Linked DNA regions of Homo sapiens: region 1 is linked to region 2. Evidence: promoter capture Hi-C in 16 types of primary human blood cells and fetal thymus (Javierre and others, 2016). All regions are on one chromosome and are shown on one strand. Each heading gives the region's core, a stretch centred on a gene start or on the middle of the fragment in contact. The rest is flanking DNA. Distances are from core to core; before and after follow the strand shown.

Evidence for each region. The method cuts DNA at HindIII sites, captures the fragments that hold promoters and counts their contacts. A CHiCAGO score of 5 or more calls a contact.
Region 1: a fragment that was not itself captured here is called in contact with the fragment with the promoter of C10orf55 in region 2 in 1 of 17 cell types (monocytes); the score reaches 5.2 in monocytes.

The regions. Positions count from the first base shown.
Region 1 is chr10:74,028,681-74,033,053 of GRCh38, reverse strand. The region is part of intron 1 of VCL (vinculin); the gene reads right to left. It overlaps LOC124902455 (a long non-coding RNA gene), which reads right to left. Exons shown (of 2, transcript XR_007062197.1): 1 at 3,122-4,373; 2 at 1-2,952. Among named protein-coding and RNA genes, the nearest start is that of VCL, 33 kb to the right of the region's middle. The HindIII fragment of the contact is 1,197 bases long and covers 2,232-3,428 here.
Region 2 is chr10:73,919,987-73,924,656 of GRCh38, reverse strand. It overlaps C10orf55 (chromosome 10 putative open reading frame 55), which reads left to right and starts at 1,880. Exons shown (of 5, transcript NR_160938.1): 1 at 1,880-2,024. RefSeq lists enhancers at 3,190-3,836, 3,837-4,485. The HindIII fragment of the contact is 3,151 bases long and covers 128-3,278 here.

The DNA of each region.
Region 1 (4,373 bases), core at 1,581-4,080, 110 kb before region 2:
TTTTCATTTCTCTTGGTTATAAACCTAGGTATTCAATTGCTGGGTCATATGGTATCTCTATGTTTAACCATTTGAGGAAATGCCAGACTATTTTCCAAAGAGGCTAAACCATTTAACATTCGCAGCAGCTACATGAGAGGGTTCCAACTTCTCAATATCCCTGGCAACACTTGTTATTATCTTTTTAATTACAGCCCTCCTACTGAAGCGGTATCTCATTGTGGTTTTGACCTGATGGCTAATGATGCTGAGCATCTTTTTATGGGTGTATTGACCATTTATATATCTACTTTTGAGAAATGTCTATTCAGATACCTTGCCAATATATATATATATATATATATTTTTTTTTTTGAGACCGAGACTTACTTTGTTACCCAGGCCGGAGTACAGTGGTGCAATCTGGGCTCACTGCAACCTCCGCCTCCCGGGTTCAAGCGATTCTCCTGCTTCAGCCTCCCAAGTAGCTGGGACTACAGGCATGAGCCACCATGCCTGGCTAATTTTTGTATTTTTTTGGTAGAGACAGGGTTTCATCATGTTGGCCAGGCTGGTCTCAAACTCCTGACCTCAGGTAATCTGCCTGCTTCGGCCTCCCAAAGTGCTGGGATTATAGGCATGAGCCACTGTGCCTGGCCCCTTGCCAATATTTTGAGTTATTTATCTTTTGCAAATATTTTTCCCAGTCTGTGGGTTGTCTTTCCCTTTCTTGATAGTGTCCTTTGCAGCACAAGCTTTTAATTTTGATAAAGGCCAATTTAAGACTAAAATATAGCTTGTCTTTTCCTTTTTCTTTTTTTTTTTTTTTTTTTTATTCTGAAACAGAGTCTCTGTTGCCCAGACTAGAGTGCAGTGGCATGATCACAGCTCACCACAGCCTCTACCTCTTCAGGCTCAGGTGATCCTCCCACCTCAGCCCCCTGAGTAGCTGGAAGTACAGGTGTATACAACCACACCCGGCTTTTTTTTTTTTTTTTTTTTTTTTTTTTGAGATGGAGTTTTGCTCTTGTTGCCCAGGTTGGAGTGCAATGGCGTGATCTTGGTTCACTGCAACCTCTGCCTCCCAGGTTCAAGTGATTCTCCTGCCTCAGCCTCCCAAGTAGCTGGGATTACAGGCACGCACCACCACGCCTGGCTAATTTTGTATTTTTAGCAGAGACTGGGTTTCTCCACGTTGGTCAGGCTGGTCTGGAACTCCTGACCACAGGTGATCCGCCCGCCTCGGCCTCCCAAAGTGCTGGGATTACAGGCATGAGCCACCGTGCCGGGCCACACTCGGCTAATTTTTAGTATTTTTTGTAGAGACAGGGTTTCACCATGGTGACCAGGCTGATCTCGAACTTCTGGGCTCAAGTAATCTGCCTGCGGGGCCTCCCAAAGTGCTGGGATTGCAGCCCAGCTTGTCTTCTTTTGTTGTTTGTGATTTTGGTTGCTTGTGCTTTTTTCCTGTTGTTTTGTTTTGTCTTTTGCTACTTGTGCTTTTGGTGTAACACTTAAGAAGGCTTCATCTAACCTGAGATCATGAAGATTTACTCCCATGTTTTATTCTAAGAATTTTATAGTTTTAGCTCTTATAGTTAGGTCTGTGATCCATTTGGAGTCAATTTTTGTGTATGGTATAAGAAAAGGTCGTCATTTTTTTTAAACTGGAGAAAACCAAGCATACTGATAGGCTACAGGACAAGAGGCAGGAAATAGATTTCTTCTGAAGTCAGATCCCTGAAGAGACAGGGTAAGAATCTGGAGAGAGATACAGAGACTAACCTTTACCAGGAGGAAAGCCACTCTTACCCTAGACAAGGGGGGTGGTGGGGGAAGCAAGTGGAGATGGTGACCTAACTGTAACTGTGGGGTAATGGGCTATATCTTCTTAGGAATTTACAAGGCACATTAGCATAATTGAGGATCTATGATAACCTTCAGTCAGGAAATGTGTTCAGTTTTGTTTAATCCATCATTTTCCAAATTCATGTGACCAAGAATTCCTTATTTCTTAGCACCTATTAATATATGACAGAATTAGGATTTCTAGGACATATGTAGGAAACAGTGATCTAGGCCAAGAGCTGCAAATTAGTGGATTTTGTGTAGAATTTGGGGCAAGGATGGTTTTTGTTTGGTCCACATAGTATTTTTAACCCATTTGTGCCAGAGGTTGCAATTTTTTTGTGTGAAAAATCAGACCTTGGCGATGACCTTGAGCAGTAGGATATAAATAACTCCCACAAGCTTAGCGTTCCAATAATGGAACACTATGCATAAATGAGTTGAAAATCAAGAAATTTCACAAAGATCCAAATTTCTGACATCTCTTAAATCTTAGAAGGTCTGGCAGCAATTTGGATCTGCATTCCATCAAGGAAAAACATTACTGGAACCCAAATGTCCCAAACAGCGCATTTGTACCATGTCCACACTCATAATCTTAATCCCAATTCATTTTACTCATTTATGTCACCACCTGATTCCTGTAACTGAGTTTATCATTTCTATACTAAGCAACCCTCTCAGACGGAAAAGTTCCTGAAGCCATTCTCAGAAACTCCTTATGCATAAACTCCTCTCCCAACATTTTCTTTAATAAATGTGCTCTTCTTGTAAGAGCTATGAGAAAGATTGAGAAGCATTTATGTCAGGAGTGACAAAAAATGCCAGTGTATGGGCCAAGTGCAACACACAGACTATTTTGTTTGACCTGCACAGTATTTTTTAACATGAGAAATTTCACATTAAAAAGAAACAGACTTCTGGGACTTTCTTGACAATTAGGAAGATTTGGTAACATTAGCCCCTGTTTCCATGTGACAACAGTAAGTTGAAGATGGTAGTAACTTCTTCAGTTAGGGCCGGCATTTTCCAGTTAACCACAGTTGCCATCACTCCCCAGTGCTTATAACTGGCCTGATTCACTCATTGCCTATTTGGCTCCTAAGGCATCAGAATTTGTACCACCTGATTAAACAAACAACCTTAATTAGCACAGTGCATTAGGCAAACATCTCAATATCATGAGTGTTAAGTGAAATTTTACTGAAGCCTCAGCTATTTCACTAATAAGGAAACATCCCACTCTCTCCCAAATATATATCCACATTGAAAAAATAACTGGAAGCAAACATACCATGGGAAGTAGAATTTCAGGTGATTTTTATTTTCTTCTTAATCCTTTTCTATACTTTTTCCAGAGTATTTTTTTTAAATCAACTATGTATTGCCTTCATAATCAGAAAAAAACACAAATTAAATTCTAAAATGCATCAACAATATTCTTCATAAATAAAGTCATGAGAAACCTCTAGGGCCTAAAGGTCAAAATTTTAACCAATTGCCCAAAATATTAATTTAAATGTGCATCAATGAGAACACAATCACATAGGCTAGGCAGCAGATGAACCATGTCAGTGGCAAGTTCTGATGTCAAGCAAGCTTATCTGATGCCACATAGTTTCCTTAGAACCAATGTTAAGCTTCCTTGGCAGCAGCTGTTTATTCTAACCCAATATGAGACTCAGTCTGTCAGTTAAGGCTACATAAATGTTAGCAGAGCAACCTTGCTCACCAGATCCCCATTTATGAAGATACCATGACTAAGCTTCTAATGTGCAAACACTTCATCCTCCCCCTCAACTCAAGATTCTTCTGGCCAGGCGCAGTGGCTCACGCCTGTAATCCCAGCACTTTGGGAGGCTGAGGCAGGGGGATCATGAGGTCAGAAGATCGAGACCATCCTGGCTAACACAGTGAAACCCCGTCTCTACTAAAAATACAAAAAATTAGCCGGGCATGATGGTGGGCGCCTGTAGTCCCAGCTACTAGGGAGGCTGAGGCAGGAGAATGGCATGAACCCAGGAGGCGGAGCTTGCAGTGAGCCGAGATCACGCCACTGCACTCCAGCCTGGGTGATAGAGCGAGACTCCATCTCAAAAAAAAAAAAAATTCTTCTGTATGGAGGCACGCCTGTAATCCCAGCACTTTGGGAGGCCGAAGTGGGTGGATCACTTGAGGCCAAGAGTTTGAGACCAACCTAGCCAACATGGTGAAACCCCATCTCTACTCAAAATACAAAAATCGGCTGGGCATGGTGGCACCTAGCTGTAGTCCCAACTACTCCAGGGGCCTCCCAAAATGCTGGGATTACAGGCATGAGCCACTGTGCCCAGCCTAAAGTTTCCATTTTAGTTGCAAACATACATAAGCAAATGCTATGTAACAGAACTCAAAGGTCCCACATCTCCCACCTTTTAGTCCTGACTAGTGACAGGAAATCAAGCAATAATTATGGGAAAATAAAATGAACACCTTTTACTAATAATCTCCTCTAGTTTTTCCAGTGTTCTTAGTTATTAAAAAGATTACTTGCCAGGCGCCATAGC
Region 2 (4,670 bases), core at 631-3,130:
GTAGACAACAGAAAATAAGAGTCTGGAGTGCAGAAGAGAGGTCTGGCTAGAGATCAGCTTTGTAAGCCATCTGTTTATTGGTGGTCATTTAAGCCTGGGTGCTAACAAGATCCTAAGGGAGAAAGCTTAGGGTGGGAATAGGAAGTTTAAGATCAGGCTTTAGGAATCCTAACATTTAAGACCGAGTAAAAGAGGTTGAGATTACAAAGGAACCCAAGAAGCCAGAGATGTTAACAATGGCTGTGGAATGCTATGAAAGTATTTTACATTTGTAGCTACTTTTACAATTGAATAAAAATGTTTAGTTTAAAAAGCCAATTTTTTTATGGCTTCTAGAACTTAATTCACTTTCTGGATTTTGAAAAATAGTGCCTGAGGGCAAGAGGTGATAGTCAAAATATTTAACTATCAAGATACCCCAGTAGGACACTTTCGCCTGAGCCAGCTGGAGGAGGGAGGATCTCAGAGGCCTTTGCTGTGCCACAGGCATTAACCCTGTGGTTGCTGGATCATGAAGAAGTGGAGAGAGGCTGATGGCAGGGGCCACGCGGAGAGGATCTCAGGACAGCATCTGTTTAGTCACTGAGCAGAACCAGTGCCTGCTGCTGAGAATCAGTCCTGCAGCAGGGTCATCACCAGCTGGATCCCACCAGATCCTTCCCCACCATCTCCACCTACTCATTGCCCCCCAGAGTTCTCCACCACAATGGACTATTCCTCATTTCCTTAGAACACCTCACCTTTTCATGCCTCCATGAACTTCCCTACGCCTACAATGCCTTTCTTCTAGTTTGGCAAATTTCTGTGTGTATTTGAATGTCCAGGTAAAATATCACCTCTTCTGTAAAGTCGTCATTGACTTCACCAGGCAGAATCAATTGCTTCTTCATTATTTTTCCATGCATTTTATGCAGACTTAGTATAGCACTTTGCAAAGTGGTGAGCTCCTTGAGGACTAGGACTGCCTCATTTGTATCTAAAATAATGTCCTGTGTATGGGTACTTTAAAAAAATGACAAAGGGCCGGGCGCAGTGGCTCATGCCTGTAATCCCAGCACTTTGGGAGGCCGAAGCAGGTGGATCATGAGGTCAGGAATTTAAGATCGGCCTGGCCAAGACGGTGAAACCTCGTCTCTACTAAAAATAGAAAAAAATTAGTGGGGCATGGTGGCAGGCACCTGTAATCCCAGCTACTCGGGAGGCTGAGGCAGAGAATTGCTTGAACCTGGGAGGCAGAGATTGCAGTAAGCCGAGATTGCGCCACTGCACTCCAGCCTGGGCGACAGAGCGAGATTCCATCTCAAAAAAAAAAAGAAAGAAAGAAAGAAATGACAAAGATTGTTGAATGAATCTCAATGTGACTGAAACCTCAAAAAGAGACCTAGAACATCCTTTTTTTTTTTTTTTTTTTTTTGAGATGGGGCCTCTTTATGTTGCCCAGGCTGTTCTGGAACTCCTGAACTCAAGGGATCCTCCCACTTTGGTATCCCAAAGTGCTGGAATTTACAGATGTGAGCCACTGCACCTCGCCTAGACCATCTTTTCCCTCAATTTGTTATTAAAACTCAGCAACCTCACTGACACATGCTATGCCATGGATAAAACTTGAAAACATCATGTTAAGAGTGAAAGAGGCCAGTCACAAAGAACCACATATTATAGGATTCTATTGATATGAAATGCCCAGAATTGGCAAACCCACAGAGAGGACAGAAAGTAGTAAATTAGTGATTGCCTAGGGCTGAGGGGGTTGGGGAGAAAAACGGAGTGATTGTGAGTGGGTACAGGATTTCTTTGTGAGGTGATGAAGTGTTCTAAAATTGATTGTGATGTCTCACAATTCTGTGAATCTACTAAAAACCATTGCATTGTACACTTCAAATGGTGCCAGACGTGGTGGTATGAGCCTGTAATTCCAGCCACTCAGGAGGCTGAGGTGGGAGGATCACTCTGGCCTAGGAGTTTGAGATCAGCCTGGGTGACAGAGCAAGACCCTGTCTCTAGAAAAGAGAAAGAATAAATGGGTAAGTTGTATGATATATGAATTATATCTCAATAAAACTGATTTTTTTTCTTTAGAGACAGGGTCTTGCTCTGTCACCCAGGCTGGAGTGCAGTAGTGCAATCATAGCTCACTGCAGCCTCGAGCTCCTGGGCTCAAGCAATCCTCCCGTCTAGGCCTCCCACAGTATTAGGATTACAGGTGTGAGCCATTGCACCTAGCCCAGAATTGATTTTTAAAAAACACCTCAGCAACTCCTCTTACTTCATCTAATTCAAAGGGAGGGCTTAAATGTTTCCTTCTTGGAAGGAAGGTGGACCCAATGGGAGTGAGTATGGAGGGGTATAGGCAGGGGTGCTGCTGTGGTCAGCTTGGGAAAGATAGGGCATACGTGGAAAGCAGGCTGAGTGCTGTTAATATAATGGGCTGAGAATACTTCAGAAAGAGGGGTTCTGGTGAAAACGGAAACCACTTCAATGAAACCAGATTGCAGCAGAAAGGCTGAGGTTACTGTGAGAACAGTGAAGTTTTACTTTGAAACCAATGGCTGAGTGTGGTCTCCTCATCTGGCCTGGGAATCTTCTAGGAGGAAAGAATTGTTATCTAGGAGAGGATTAAAATTCTGATAGATGAGGCTGGGCGCAGTGGCTCACGCCTGTAATCCCAGCACTTTGGGAGGCCGAGGTGGGTGAACCACGAGGTCAGGAGTTTGAGACCAGCCTGGCCAACATGGTGAAACCCCCGTCTCTACTAAAAATACAAAAATTAGCCGGGTGTGGTGGTGCACGCCTGTAATCCCAGCTACTCAGGAGGCTGAGGCAGGATAATAGCTTGAACCTGGGAAGCAGAGGTTGCAGTGAGCCGAGATGGGCCACTGCACTCCAACCTGGGCGACAGAGCAAGACTGTGTATGGAAAAAAAAAAAAAAATTCTGGGCTGGGCGGGTGGCTTACAACTGTAATCCCAGCACTTTGGGAGCCCAAAGCGGGTGGATCACAAGGTCAAGAGACCGAGACCATCCTGGCCAACATGGTGAAACCCCGTCTCTACTAAAAATACAAAAATTAGCCGGGCGTGGTGGCATGTGCCTGTAATCTCAGCTACTCAGGAGGCTGAGGCAGGAGGATCACTTGAACCCGGGAGGCGGAGGTTGCAGTGAGCCAGGATTACGCCACTGCACTCCAGCCTGGCAACAGAGTGAGACTCCGTCTCAAAAAAAAAAAAAAAATTCTGATAGCTGTTGCCTAGAAACCCAGCAACCATAAAGTAGAAAGCTTGAAAGGGGGGCTGCTCTCCTTTTGCCCTAGTTGGACTCTCCTGAGAGGTGATAAATCCTAGTACCGCGCATGAGGACTCTGGAGATGGCTGCCTGGGTTCGAACCCTGACTCTTTGCATTTGGAGCTGCATTGCCTCGTGCAAGTCACTCAATCTGTCTGTGCCTCCATTTTCTCTACTGTTAAATGGGGCTAGTGATACTACCTTCCTCATAGGATTCTTGGGAGGATTAACTCAGACAACACATGAATAATTTAGCACAGTGTTGGTCTGGCATGGTGGCTCATGCTTGTAATCCCAGCACTTTGGGAGGCTGAGGCGGGTTGATCACTTGAGGTTAGGAGTTTGAGACCAACCCGGCCAACATGGTGAAACCCCATCTCTATTGAAAGTACAAAAAATTAGCCAGGCGTAGTGGCGGGCGCCTGTAATCTCAGCTACTCGGGAGGCTGAGGCAGGAGAACTGCTTGAACCCGGGAGGCAAAGGTTGCACAGTGAGCTGAGATTGAGCCACTACACTCCAAACTGGGGGACAGAGCAAGACTCCATCTCAAACAAAAAAAAAAAAGGCCGGGCACGGTGGCTCACGCCTGTAATCCCAACATTCTGGGAGGCCGAGGCAGGCGGATCACGAAGTCAGGAAATCAAGACCATCCTGGCCAACATGGTGAAACCCCATCTCTACTAAAAACAATACAAAAAGTAGCCGGGCGTGGTGGTGGGCGCCTGTAATCCCAGCTACTCGGGAGGCTGAGGCAGGAGAATCGCTTGAACCTGGGAGGCGGAGGTTGCAGTGAGCCGAGATCACACCACTGCACTCCAGCCTGGGCGACAGAGCGATACTCCATCTCAAAAAAAAAAAAAACAAAAGCAAAAACAGAAAAAGCACAGTGCTTGATCGTGGAGGCACTAATAGGAGGCAGTCTCTGGAGTGAGAATCTGGAACTGTGAAACTGGTTGCTGGAGAAGCGGCTGATGCCTGCTAGCCTGGGGTGAGATCTAATATTAGGCAAAGAGACAGCAGCTGGCTGGGGGTCAGGGTGTTGGCTGGGAAATGGCCTGAAAATTGTTAACAGCCTCCTGGCTTAACCCTGCCAGTAGGGCTCATACTTCCTGTTTTCAGTGTCTCTGAGCCCTGATGCTGGAGCTGCTCAAGTTTGAACAAGATCTTTCTTGGCCCCTGAGGGGAAGGCAGAAACTGAACAGCCACTCGGCTTGGGCAGCTTCCTAGCAGGTTTCCACTCCCGCAAAATAGTGCAGTTCTGAGGTGGGAGAGGGCAGAGGGTTCCCATCTGATCTGATGCTACAATAATTTACTTAGCTTTGTAATAATAACCACCGTTTTTATGCTTTTATTAGGTGCCAGTATTATGCTAAAGGACTTATGAACTC